3 separate regions of the Homo sapiens genome follow, and all the other regions are linked to region 1. The links are contacts of gene promoters, found by promoter capture Hi-C in human tissues and cell types (Jung and others, 2019). All regions are on one chromosome and are shown on one strand. The core of a region is centred on a gene start or on the middle of the fragment in contact, and the rest is flanking DNA. Distances in the headings are between cores, read along the strand shown.

Region 1 (4,308 bases), core at 682-3,181:
AACTTGGTTCATCTCAAAATAAATGGCCAAAGGGGTGGTTTAATGGCGGACCCTCAGCTTGTCAAAGAGGCAGCTCTGGGCCACTTCCCAGCCCTGTCTGCAGCCAGACTACTACAACAGAATGTCTCCTAAATTATCACCACAGTAATGCTAACCTTCAGTCCGACTTTGGGAATCCTCCCACCAGTGTCCCACAGGCACAAACCATGAATGCCTGGAAATGTCAGCCTCCTCCCAAAACAGTTTTGCTTGGAATACCCCATTCAAAAAACACACATCATTCAATCCCCCATAGCTCCCTCCCTAGGTCAGCCAATCCTTTGGCGAGTCTCGATTCCAATCTAGGAAAGGTCACTTAACAAATGTCTGACACATTACATTTAATTCTACCACCTCTAAACGATCCTCACACAGAGAGTGAAAGCACAGAACACTTCAATGCCAGGGCTCCTCAGTTCAAACCCCAAACGCTGGTGTGTGTGGTGTGTTTCCTGGGACAGACTGTAAAAGGGTTTTTCAATTGTGTTACATAGTCTGATTCATTTATTTATAGCAATGTCTAATTTTCTGGTGGTTTCTGCCCTCAAACAGTCCTGGAAAACTGTTGTACTATATTATACTATAAAACAATTTTACGTCAAAATTGATTCTATAAAATTTGTCTCCTACCCATTCCAGCCAATATCCACTAGCTACACACACAGACCCAGAGGCACACACATACACACCAATACCATAGTTCATAGCAAAATTTTTTCAAATCTCAAAAAAAAAGGGGGGGGGGCTTCTTTCACTGTAACTAAGAAGATTTGCTTTGAGCAATCTAACATTGGGAACGCCTAGAAACTCAAGAAGCACACAACTTGTTGCAGCAATAAACGCTGGGCCGAAGCCTGAACAAAGCACTACAAATAAGCTCTAGAAACTCACATGGCCCTTGAACAAAATGTTGTGTGTTTGTAGTTACCTCTCCAGCGCGCTCTCATCACCCTCTCCCAACCCTCTCCCCAACTCTCTTCCCGGCCCCACCACCCTTCGTAGCTCCCGTCTCTAATCTGGTTTCCATTCCAGCCCCGCCCCCTTCCCCTTCCCTCTCTGGGACCGTGAATCAATCCCATCCCGGGCAGGAAACGAGACCCAGGGCAACCCCCTCCGCTGCGGCGGAACAAAGGAGGCGAGCGCAGCTGCACGCGCAGGGAGGCCCACAGCGTCCCGGGCCCCTCCTCCCCCGCCGCCGCCGGGGCACACCGCACCTGAACCCCACTCCCCAGGACGCCCCATTGTTCTCCCTCCGCTTTCCTGCCCGGAGGAAGCCACACCGTGTCTTTCCAGGGGGCCAGGAAACAGCTGTGGGCCAGAGGAATGGAGGGGCTGTGGGTGAACACGAGGACAGCCGAGATTCGACTCTGCCCACAGGTACGAGAGGCATGGGGCAAAGTAAGAGCAACTTAGTTTACAAGCCCTTCTTCCCTCCCGCCACCCCCGAAGCCACTGCGGAGTCACGACCACCCTCCGCAACCTACAGCGTGCGCCGTTCCCGCCGCAGCGCCGCGTCTCCCAAGAGAGCGGCAGAGCCCGCTGACCCCCGCCCGCAGGGTGCGACGGGGCCAGGGACCGCGGGCACAAAGGCGCGGAGCAGGCGCCTCGGGGGCCGACGACGGACGCAGAGGGAAGGGCAGGGGAGAGAGAGAGAAAGCGCTCGCGCTACCTCGCCTGGCGCTACCTCGCCGGGCGCCACTCCGCCTCCACGTCGTCCTCGCTCTCCGGTGGCGCTCCGGGACGCGGGCCCAGCCCGGGGCTGCGGGGCTCCCGCCGCGGCTGTTCTGCCAAGGCTGTCCCGCGGCTGCCGGCCGACTGCGCGCCGCGCGCTCTGGTACTGCCTCCACGCGCCGCGGTTGAGGCTCCCGTGCGCACCCAGCTGCGGAGTGCTCAGCGGCGGCGGGAGGAGCCCGGCCACTCCCCTCTCGCCCGCTGGCGGAGGGGCCGGCCGAGGGGCGGGGGCGGCGACCTCGCTGCCTGGGATTCGCCCCTCGGCGCGCGGGCAGGAACGGGAGCCACCGCCTCCGAGCCGACTCACCTCTGTCCGCCCGGTGCCGGCTTCACAGCGCCCCCCGGTGAGCGTCGCGGCGGCCTCCGCGCCTTGCGGGTTTGCGGCCCGACCCTCCGCACCCGGGGCGAGCCTGGATGGGACGAGGCTTGAGGGAAGGAGGGGCGATCGTCGCGGCCCCCACGGAAGGCAGTCTTTCTACCTTTTTTGCTTCCAGACTCACTGACATAAAATGAGAAATACAACATTTGACAACTCGAAGCCAGCCTGGGGTCACATTCCGGCAAACAGTGGGAGTAAGTCTCAATTTTTCCTCCTCCCCAAGATGAAAATTTTTGGATGCCGAGAATATCAGAAAATATTAGTTTCACAGAAAAAGAAAAAAATTATACTGAGTGGTGTGGTGTGTCTTCATTTACAAGACTTTTAGTATCTTTTAAATTACTTAATCTCACATTGTGGGAAATAGACACTGGCCAATTCTTTGTGTTATAAATACATGAGAGGTAGTTTAAAAGAAATTTCAAATACCCATACGTATTTGAATAGAGTGTATTAACAGGTCCTGAGTAATGATCAGTGATGGGGTATATTATACAGGCATGTAGGGGCCAGAGAATCAGGACACCCCCCCTACACACACACACACACCTTCTCACTCAAGCCCTATTGCCTCATTGGAGAATTTAGAACAATCCTCTTGACCCAGGTCCTGGTTTCTTCATCCTCGCACAGGGAAGGGTGCGCATTCAAACTTACTCACTGGGTGAGATGAGGATTACTTGGCTGAGGTGTTAAAAGCACTGTAGACACAGTAATTATTACTCATGGTTCTAACTACTTTATCCTATAATGAAATAAATTGCCATAAATGGGCCAGGTTTAAATGGACTGACCTGTATCTGGAAACTGTCACTAAAGTGAGGTGAACCAAAGAATTCAGACCATATATAGTAACTGTTCCCACTGGCATAAGAACCACAGGCGCTGGGATTTGTTAAATGCCACTAGTAGAGTTTGGAAAGGTGGGACCTTCACAGACTATATCTGCTGGGAACTGTCTCATCATTGATGTCACCATCAGCATCACTTCAGATGTACAAGTGGTGTGATAATGGGCGAAACTAACACATACTGGGTACCAGGGACTGTTCTTTGTTTAATCCTCACAAAAAGCTCTGAGGTAAGTTTCTCTCATTATCCTTGTTTTACAGACCAGCAAAGCCAAGGACAGAGAGGTCTTCAGGGAATACATGGCTATGGTGGTTTGAAGACTCCCATTAGAGAGTGGATATTAATTGCCCTCCTTTTGAATATGGTCTGGACTTAGTGATTTGATTGTAACAAATAGAATACAGCAGATGTGATGCTATGTGACTTCCAAACCTAGGTCATAAAAGGAGATGAAGTTTTCACCTGGCTCTCCCTTGGGACACTCACCCTTGGAACCCAGCTGCCATATTGTGAGGAAGCTCAAGCCACAGGGAAGGCCATGTGTAGGTGTTTGGGCTGATGGTGCCAGCTGAGGACCTGGTCTACTGCCAGTACAACTTATATCAAGCATGTGAGTTGGCGAGCTTTTGAAAGAACTCCAGCCACAGTCACTGACCACGCTGCCTGAGAGACCTAGAGAGAAAACCTAGCTGAGCCAAATCAGGCCCCGGAAACGTAAGTGATAATAATAAAAGATTGTCATCTGGGTGGTTGTTACATAGCAATAGACACCTAGAACAGTGACAGAGCTGGAATTTGAACCCAGATAGTCTGACTCTATAGTCTTCACTATCAAGCACACTACCTCAGACCTTGATAACCTAGCATAATGAAAACCCTGGAGATCCCAGCCTTCACAATAGGCAACATATGAACCTGCTACCTGGTGACGTGTGTTAGACTCACTTCTCCATTTTGCTTGTCTGAGTTTAGGTTCCCAAGTGACTGCTTATAGCAGTTTGGCAGTTCATGGAACTTCTGACCTCTACTGTCCAGTTCAGCTTTTCAAAAATAGCAGAAATGCAGATGGCAGGTTCATGAATATAAGATGTATACAAATTGAAGAGTGGGGGAATTCTATAAACTTTTGATCTTGGAAGGTGGCCAGATTTTAGAAAAAGTAGGTTTGAGACAACTATGTGCTGAGTAGGTCTATCAAAATAGCTAGCTACTAGAAGTAAAGTTTTGAAACTCCTGACTCAAGAAAGGGATAGGACACAGTTATGTCAGAACAGTTCGGCCTCTAGAAGGACCTCGCATAGTGAGGA
Region 2 (4,308 bases), core at 1,162-3,661, 81 kb before region 1:
TCTACTATGTGTCAAGAAAAAGCTGGAGTGTAGAGACAATTAATGCTTGACCCCTTCTTTCAGGAGTTCTCCGTCAAAAGGAGGAGAGAAAGAGAAAGAGAAAATGGAGCCAATACATTAAGCCCAATGATAAAGGTATGTGCAAAACATGGCAGAACAAGACAAACCTCAAAGGGGTGGAGAATGGACTCAGAGAAACTCAAGAGGTGGAAAACTCAGTCCTAAAGAATGAATGAGCAAGACAAATGTCTTTTAGACAAAAATAAAGGCCAAAACATCATGGAGGTGGGGTGAAGGATTATGTGCAGTTCGATGTAGCTGGAAGGCAAAGCAAAGCATAATGAAGAGAGGATAAGAGATGAGCTGCGGAGAGAGATAGGCAGGTTCCAAATGAAAAACAAAAGAGCTGATAGGAAGCTTCAGTGCAGGATGGATAAGACAGTAATTGGAATTAATAATATCCAATTTACCATGTACCAGAACTGCCTCCAAGCTCTTTACGTTTAGTCATTTTAAATCTCACAACAAGACCAGCACAAAGCAAAGGCATAACTTGCTGAGGTCCACTGCCAGTGTGACACAGCAGGGCCAGAGCTAACGCCTGCGACTGACCACTGGGATAAAGCACCTTTGCATTTTGCATAGACCACAGGGTGACAAGGGTGCAGAGAGCAACCAGTCTGCAGCCAGGAGACTGGTGAAAGACTGGGATACAGGAAGAGTGTATATTTGGCCAAGTAGATCACAGAGAGCTGTTCACACCAGTCAAGGACTTTGGCTTTTCTTCCAAAGGCATACGGAACCATAAATAATGACAATTTACTGAACACCTTTGATGTGCCAGGAGCCCAGTAAAGTGTCCTAGGATTCACAATTGGACTTAATCTTCAACACAGACCTGCAAATTAAATGCTAGCCTCCTTAAAGAAACATGGTCTTAAGAGATGACATGAGAAGCCCATGATCCCATTCTCAGAAGAGTCATAACTTGAACCCAGAAATACTGTGAATCACATTCTTCCCTCTCTCATCATGTTCTCCTACAATTATTTGCCAGCATATCTTACCTTCCAGCTGAACTACTGTGAGATCCTCAAGGATAGCCACCCCTAGTCTTATTTTGTAACCTTCATATCAGTGAGTCTGCTGCCTTGCATATAATAAGTACTGTATACTCTAAGTGCATTTGTTGAATGAATGTATGAATAAAACGACAGACAGAAAAAAAGTAATAAAAAGATCCTGACACCAGGGTCTTTTTTGAATAACAGCTTGTTCTAGCTTGTTCCTTTGAACAATGTGCACTGATCTCTGTCTCTCAAAGGCCTTTCAACCATTCTCTACACAACCAAAGCCTTGCTCAAGCTTCACAGCTGCTTGTGGCCTTAGCCTTCTCTCACATTCTGATTCCCCAGTCTGTGCACCATTGCATAATGGGGATAGTGGAAAACAATGAACACAGAGGCAGAAAACATCTCAGATGCAATTCCCTGGGCCCTATAGATGTATCTCAACACCTACTTGACTTCAAGCAAGTCATTACCATGGCTGAACTTCAGTGTCTTCATCTCCAACATGGAGAATGTAGCCACATACTTTAGAAGATCAAATAAAAGTGCATACAAGCACTTTGAAATTTATAAAGCCCTGAATAAATGTCAGAAAATCTTTGTGTGTTATAATTAGTTATGTACACACCTTCTTATTCCCTACCAGAATACAAACTCCTCTAGGGCAGAGCCTTTCTAATTAATCTTTATGCCATGTTTATGCCACAGAGACATAAACATGAAATGTAACCAATACCAAGTCATAAATGAAGGGATGGATGAATGAGTGGATGCTCTCGAAGCAGTGGCAAAGTCCCTACTGGAGTGAGCTCCATGAAGAATGATAAACAATGGGAAATTCATTTCTTCTATGACCTTCATGTAGGAAAGGAAAGCATTGCTTAGATTTTTTTATGAGCCTTCCTCCCCTTCTGCTCCTCCAATGTTCAGATAATATTTTGAGATGCCACTTTCATTATCATCATTGGCAAGAAATGCAGGAAAACACATTACAGTAAATACAAAAGAAGTTTTCCAATATATAATACGTACTCACTGAATTCTTCATGTATTGTTGAATACAGACCTTTTTCCCATGCTCCTAGGGCTACAACTTTGCATTATATTTACCACTGGTTCCAAAATAATGCAAAATTACTTCAAAAATGAGTAACATATATGGCGCGCGCACACACACACACACACACACACACACACACACACACACACACACATATATACAAACACAAGGCTTTGGAAGATCACCAAATCACCCTGTTGTGAGTTCATTTTAACTCAAAGAACCTAAGTTGAATACTTATTTTTTTCTTCTCTATCCAGGCTGAAATACTTAACTGCTGTCCTCAAAGACAGGGTCTCATTCATCTAACAGAGAGTATAATTTTAATAGAAGACAAAGGCTAAAAGGGATTTATTCTTTCAGGATTCTAGAGAGCCACTGAGTTCAAAGTGACGTGAAAATTTACCAATTAAAGTACTTAAGCACTGGAAAAATTTGCTTGTAACTACTGGCATACCCATCTCAAGGACAGTATAAATGTCATCAGACTTATTTCTTATAAACACAGATCTTCAATTTCTTTAAAAAAACAAGGGGTGGGGGCAAAAGGGAGGGCCCCAAAGAACACAAACCCCCTCCCAATCTTGTTCCTCTCCCTCTCTGGCAATAAGAGCACGTACCCATCATCAGCTCCAACATTTATAACTATAAACTGAAACCACATGCCAGTCTTCCAAGCCACTCTGTAATTAAGGAACCTAAATAAATCTTTAGAGAAGTCTTTAGTTAAAAACGGTTGTGACCCATATGCTTCACATTATTTTGTGACCGTGTCAGCATTGTTATTTACCACACAGAGAAATGAATGGTTAATTATAATATAATGACGATAGCGTAAGGGAGTAAACACAGTTTTAGTCCTACCACATTAAGGGCATGGTTTTATCCTCTTCTTCTGTCCTCTAGTTGAGCTCTAAGAATAGGGTCAGCCCGATGTTTAAAGGCCATCTCCCCTTCATTTCCAGATCAGCTACACGGCTGTTCTTTGAGAGCCAAACTTTCCCTAGCACTAAGTATGTTTCCAGACAGCTGTATCTATCACTTTTAGGTTTTAGAAGTTTGGTTTGGGGCTCATCTGTTATTTTCTGTCACGGTGGAATGCTGGGTTGCATGTTCACAATTGTCTAGCTGGTATTTTTGTTCCTCTCCCATCTTATTTCTGTTCAGAGTGTTCGTCAGAGTGGTTCTGCTTTCATGGCCATCAGACACAATGGCAGGGCTTCTTTTCCCAAAGCTCCATGTTCTCTACCCTGCCATTTCCTTCCTAGGTTTGTTTCACCTCAAGTGCAAAGCAGAAAAGATGTCTGTGACACCGAAATACATCCAAAGCTTATGTTCTTTCAAACATGGCCCCATGTTTCAGCCTCTCCAGCTCTTCCCTATAGAGTTGCTTGAGAAATCATTCTCCAAAGACAATCTAATCCATTCTGAGAACTGGTAGTTGGACCTCTCCATTAGCCAAAGTGTTTAACAGAACTAAATTTGTCTCAGGAAACTTACCTGAACTTAGATAACTGTTTCTACCTTCTTATTTCAAGTCATTTTCTTCAAAAGCTCTCAAAATGGTATTATTCCTTTTCATTTAATCTTGAGCCCTAGAGTACTTTCAAATAACACCAGGAAATTCTCCTTTGGAATTCAAACCTCTCAAAATAGCTCAGTCTCAAAATTCCCATCTACAATTGAGATATACAAGTCTCCACTATTTCTTTTCCTTACTAGCTCTGGTTTAGTCCTAAAACTGGGTGTTTCTAAACTAACCCCCAAAAAAGTGTTTTTTAAAAATGCCTAACCTCCATGTGCTTCCCCAATTCTAACTTCACGCTAAGCCCAATCAGGATTGAGGTGGTCCACAAGGACATGGAAGAGAAGGAAAAGGAGAAAGGGAATTATGTATGGTGTGTTTTGCATGGAAACCTTGAGTTTTCTTAAGGAGAGGCACTACGTTGGCCTTCCTTATATCTTTATATCTATAATTGTCTCATATTCTTAATTCAGAAACATTTGCCCAATTGGAAAATATCCCCAAGTTGACATTTTGATATCATTGTCAAGTTAGTGTTATGCCCTTCCACCAGACATTCATCTTATCACATCTTAAGGTAAAACTTTAGGGAAAATAAGTCTTTATAGTTATTTGTACCTTTATCCTGGAAGGCTTCACTGCAGTCTTGTCCT
Region 3 (4,308 bases), core at 1,301-3,800, 73 kb after region 1:
ATTTAAACCCCACATACTGTACAAGGCAAGGTTAGCGGCTATTGAAAATACCACTAGAAGAGGGCTATCTAACTACACAATTGATAGTATAACTAAACAAAAAAGACACTTTACAGTTTAAAAACAAACCTTACACAGCCTTACATTTCCGTTTTATTTTTCTTTAAAAGGAGTGAGTTGTATGGGAGGGTTAAATGCTTTATAGACAAGGAAAAGAAACTGTGCTAGAACCAACTTATTCAACATCATCTTCTTCTTCTTCACCATTTCTTCATTTTCCTCATCTTCCTATTCTTCCTTCATTGTCTTGCTTTTTTTCAGCCTTCATGGCTCGCTTTTTTGCTGTATCAGGCTTTTCTTTAGCTCGGTATGCAGCAATATCCTTTTCGCATATTTCCTTCAGCTTAGCAGCCTTCTTTTCATAAGGCTGCTTGCCATCTGCAGCAGTGTTATTAACATCTCTCCCAGTTTCTTTGCTATGTCATCAATGGGTAGGCCAGGATATTCTCCTTTGATCTTGGTGATACTCAGAACAGAACAAGAAAAAGCCCAAAAGAGGCCTCTTGGGTGCACTGGTTTCCTTAAACTCCTCTTTTGTTTCCCCTTTAGGAGGGATTAGGTTTTCATTTGTCTTTCATAACAGGTTTTGTCTGCCTTTGCCATGTCTTCAAATTTTCCTTTCTCTTTAGCAGAAATGGCCTTCCACCTCCCTGAGCACTCCTGAGACAACTCTGAGAAGCTGACCGAAGGAGCTGGATGCTGCTTCTTGTGCTTCCTCCCAGCAAGTCTATACAGAGAATGCATATGATGACATGTTGCCCCATGGCCTCTTAGGATCTCCTTTGCGCATGTTTAGTAATTTTTCCTTAGCCACCAACAGAGTGGCCCAGTGCTTATCAATTCTCACTTTCCCCAGCACTATTTCTATGGAGCTCAATGTACTGCAATAGCCATGACAGTGGGAGCCAGATGCTGCCTCTCATTAGATTCTCTTTATTGGAAATTTGAACAGAAAAATATGGAACGAACTTTATAATGAACAGTGGAATGGGAAGTGAGAGAATTTCAAGGGAATGAAAGCTATGGAAAGTCAAAGGCATGTGTCATCTTGAGTTACCAGGGGGCAGAAGAAGTTGGTCATTATAGAGAGGAGAATGGAACTGATGTGTAGAACGAAGCTGATAACATAAAAAAGCAAGAGACAAAAGACAGGTATAGAATGTCTCAGAGAAAAACAGAAATAGAAAAAATAGAGGCAGAGAAAGAGACCGAGAGAGAAGCAGACAGATGAAGAGATAGAGGTAGATAGAAACCTCACTCAGAACTGCCACCATCAGCTTAATCCCCCAAACTAGAAACCTCTGCAGACATCTCCCTTATCACCCACATCCAATGTTGTCAATTCTACCTTCCAAAGATGTCTTTAAGGGCTGGGCACGGTGGCTTATGCCTGTAATCCCAGCACTTTGGGAGGCTGAGGCAGGAGGATCACCTGAGTTCAGGAGCTCAAGACCAGCCTGGCCAACATGGTAAAACCCCATCGCTACTAAAAACACAAAAAATTAGCTGGGCGTGGTGGCAAGCACCTATAATTCCAGCTACTCAGGAGGCTGAGGCAGGAGAATAGCTTGAACCTGGCAGGAGGCAGAGATTGCAGTGAGCCACTCTGGCAGGAAGCAGAGGTTGCAGTGAGATTGAGCCACTGCACTCCAGCCTGTGAGACAGAGACTCCATCTCAAAAAAAAAAAGAAAAAAAAATTTCTAAGATGTGATTTTTTTTTTTTTTAAGTCCTGCTGTCACTGCCGTCCAGATCTTCATAAGTACTTGCTGGGACTATGGCAAAAACCTCACAACTGGTCTCTCCCTACCCCAGTCTATTTCCAGCACTGTTGCAGATCACACTATCTTACACTTTGGTGGCCACGTCTTCGGGCCTGGCGAAACCTGCCTCATCTCCTCTCCTGTGAGTGCTAGGTTCCTCCAGATCCCATTCTTCTGCCACAGCAAATCAGGCCCTGACCTTTGTAAATGGGATTCCCTTGGCTTTCTCTTCTGCATTTGGCAATCTTCCATCCTGCCTTCAAAATCTGGCTCAAAAATACCTCAGTAATGCCTTTTCACCTCTTTCAGGCAGAGTTATCTTATAACAAAGTTCCTACCTTTCCCATTATACCGTGAGCTTTTTTTTTAGTTATCTCAGAATTCCCAGGACACAGCAAATGTGCGTTGTCTTGAACTAAATTTGTGGAATTTCAGGTAATGAGGGAGCCAGGACACTGCTGGGTGGGTGGGCCAGCTCTTATGATTCTGCCCCAACCCAGAGCCAGCCCCTAGATTTTCAGGTTTTTGTCTTCATCCACGTTTATCCCCACAGATCCTCTGAAAGCTCCAAACAAAATTTTCCCCACAGCTCCATGGTAACCTCAGCAGAGGCTCCTGGAGGTGACAGTTCTGGGATGCAAAGAAGGGCGAATGAAGTGGGGCAGCTATTTGTCCATGTGAGTATTTGGACTTCCTTGATACACATAAGAGCAATTTCCTTCCTTTTTGCTTTGAATCCTAAGAAAATGCCTCAATAAAAAATACTTAGGGGAGCACATGAATTAACTCACTTTCCATCACCTGAACCACTTAGCGCTTCCAACAAAGCTTTGGGGGGAAATCTGTATTTAATCAATGTTGAAACAATCACTCTGATGCAGAAATGCACACAAAAAGAGGACCAGCTTTTATTTTGCGTACTGTATTCCTTTTGACAGTGATGACTAATGGAGTAAGATTTTTGTTCACTAGAAGAAGCTCAGTAGCATGTATCAGGGCAATTAACTTGGAAATCTGTGAATAAGCATGATTCAGGGGCCTATTGAACATCAACTTGCAGACTCTTATGAATCCTGGTTGCTTCCATTGGCTGAAAAAATACTGTAAAATCTTGAATTTTGCAGTAAAAAAAATTCATTTTGGTTGTGACTCCTACTTGAGTCACATGGTATCAGATGGAAAATGAGTAGGAAGGAGAGGATCGCTGCCAACTAAAAGGAGAGAGGCTAGTCTGGACAGAGCATTTTGTGGGACACAGATTTGATTGTAAGCCAACTATTTTAAAAATCCTCATTCTTGCAAGCTAGCACATGACCTCTTTCCTAAGGGTGAGGAGATTCCAGAGGTACATATTTGCCATCTGGAGTGGATGCAAATTCTAGTGCAATTCATCTAGAAACCTGCATCATTGAAATTAATCATCATGTTGAACAAGGAGAGCATGCTGGGGCAGGGAGGTCAGTTTCACTTGATAAGAATAGAATGCACATTCTAGCTGGGAATGTGCTGACATTCATTGCATTCAGGAAAATTCTACACAAAGCCTCTCTCTCTGGAGAGGATTCCTGAGAAAGAGAAGGGCTCACTGTGTGGCATAGAAATGAGAACCCCCTCAAAGCCCTGGCTTTTGAAGGTATCCAGAATCACAGTGATTCAATGCCATTGGATACTGCTCTTTTTCTTCCTGGGAGGGAAACATCAGTCCATCAGTTCAAACCCTACAGGGTTTTCTGTGTTTGTCCTAATCATGTTAGAAGCAGAACGCCTAGTTAGTAATCAAGCACCAGTTGGAGCTGTTTCCTACCAAACGTATGGTTTTGATTTTGAAGCCCTCCATTCATTGTTCTTTAGCACTGTGAAGGGCTTGTAACCAGCTAACTGCTTCTCCTACTTTGGTCTGGGGAACTAAATGCAAATCTGGCTGATACTTCAGATGGGCTAGGGCCAAATTTTGTTGGTTTTTGTTAATGCTGTTACTTATTTTTGAAAGAGGTGTGGACAAAAAAAAAAGGGCAAAAGTTGGAATGGTATTTGAAGTTTGCTCGTGGTGTTTTAGGGAAACAGGAACATATCACTATAAAAGACATTTCCTTCAATATGGGTAAGAGTTCCTCATTGATTCAACTGAGCTCTTGAAATCTGAAATGTTTAGGGAGCAGTAGAAATTTGATAAGGGATCATAGACTCAAGGGGATGAGAGAAGATTTGAAAAGTCATCGAATATAACTCCTTGATTTAGTAAAACCATAATTCGTAGTTTTCCTCTGATGAGTCACGGCCAGGAAGTAGATATTGTAGATGAGTCTGGGTCCTTGCACTTCTCAGCTTCTGTCATTTACAAATTCTACTTTGATGTCTCTGAAGATGACATCTGAATGTGCATGTGCAGAAGAAGTGGCATTGAATAGAACTGGTTTAAAATCCCTAATTTGCTACTTAATTGCTGTTTGAATTTGCATAAGTTATTGAACCCTCTAACCCTCAAT

What was found. Contacts are between HindIII fragments. The study calls those that stand out against the background at their distance.
Region 2: a contact is called between a fragment that was not itself captured here and the fragment with the promoter of MYO1B in region 1, in 2 of the 25 tissues and cell types used here (IMR-90 fibroblasts and mesenchymal stem cells).
Region 3: a fragment that was not itself captured here is called in contact with the fragment with the promoter of MYO1B in region 1 in 3 of the 25 tissues and cell types used here (bladder, hippocampus and liver).

What each region holds. Positions count from the first base shown.
Region 1 is chr2:191,243,027-191,247,334 of GRCh38, reverse strand. It overlaps MYO1B (myosin IB), which reads right to left and starts at 1,931. Exons shown (of 31, transcript NM_001130158.3): 1 at 1,709-1,931. MYO1B-AS1 (MYO1B antisense RNA 1) reads left to right here and starts at 1,160. Exons shown (of 4, transcript NR_186085.1): 1 at 1,160-1,416; 2 at 3,262-3,715. RefSeq lists a silencer at 1,621-2,010 and an enhancer at 1,423-2,045. The HindIII fragment of the contact is 14,933 bases long and covers 1-4,308 here.
Region 2 is chr2:191,324,747-191,329,054 of GRCh38, reverse strand. All of the region lies in intron 3 of MYO1B (myosin IB), which reads right to left. Among named protein-coding and RNA genes, the nearest start is that of MYO1B-AS1, 81 kb to the right of the region's middle. The HindIII fragment of the contact is 3,039 bases long and covers 892-3,930 here.
Region 3 is chr2:191,170,775-191,175,082 of GRCh38, reverse strand. It overlaps the pseudogene HMGB1P27. Among named protein-coding and RNA genes, the nearest start is that of STAT4, 22 kb to the right of the region's middle. The HindIII fragment of the contact is 6,101 bases long and covers 1-4,308 here.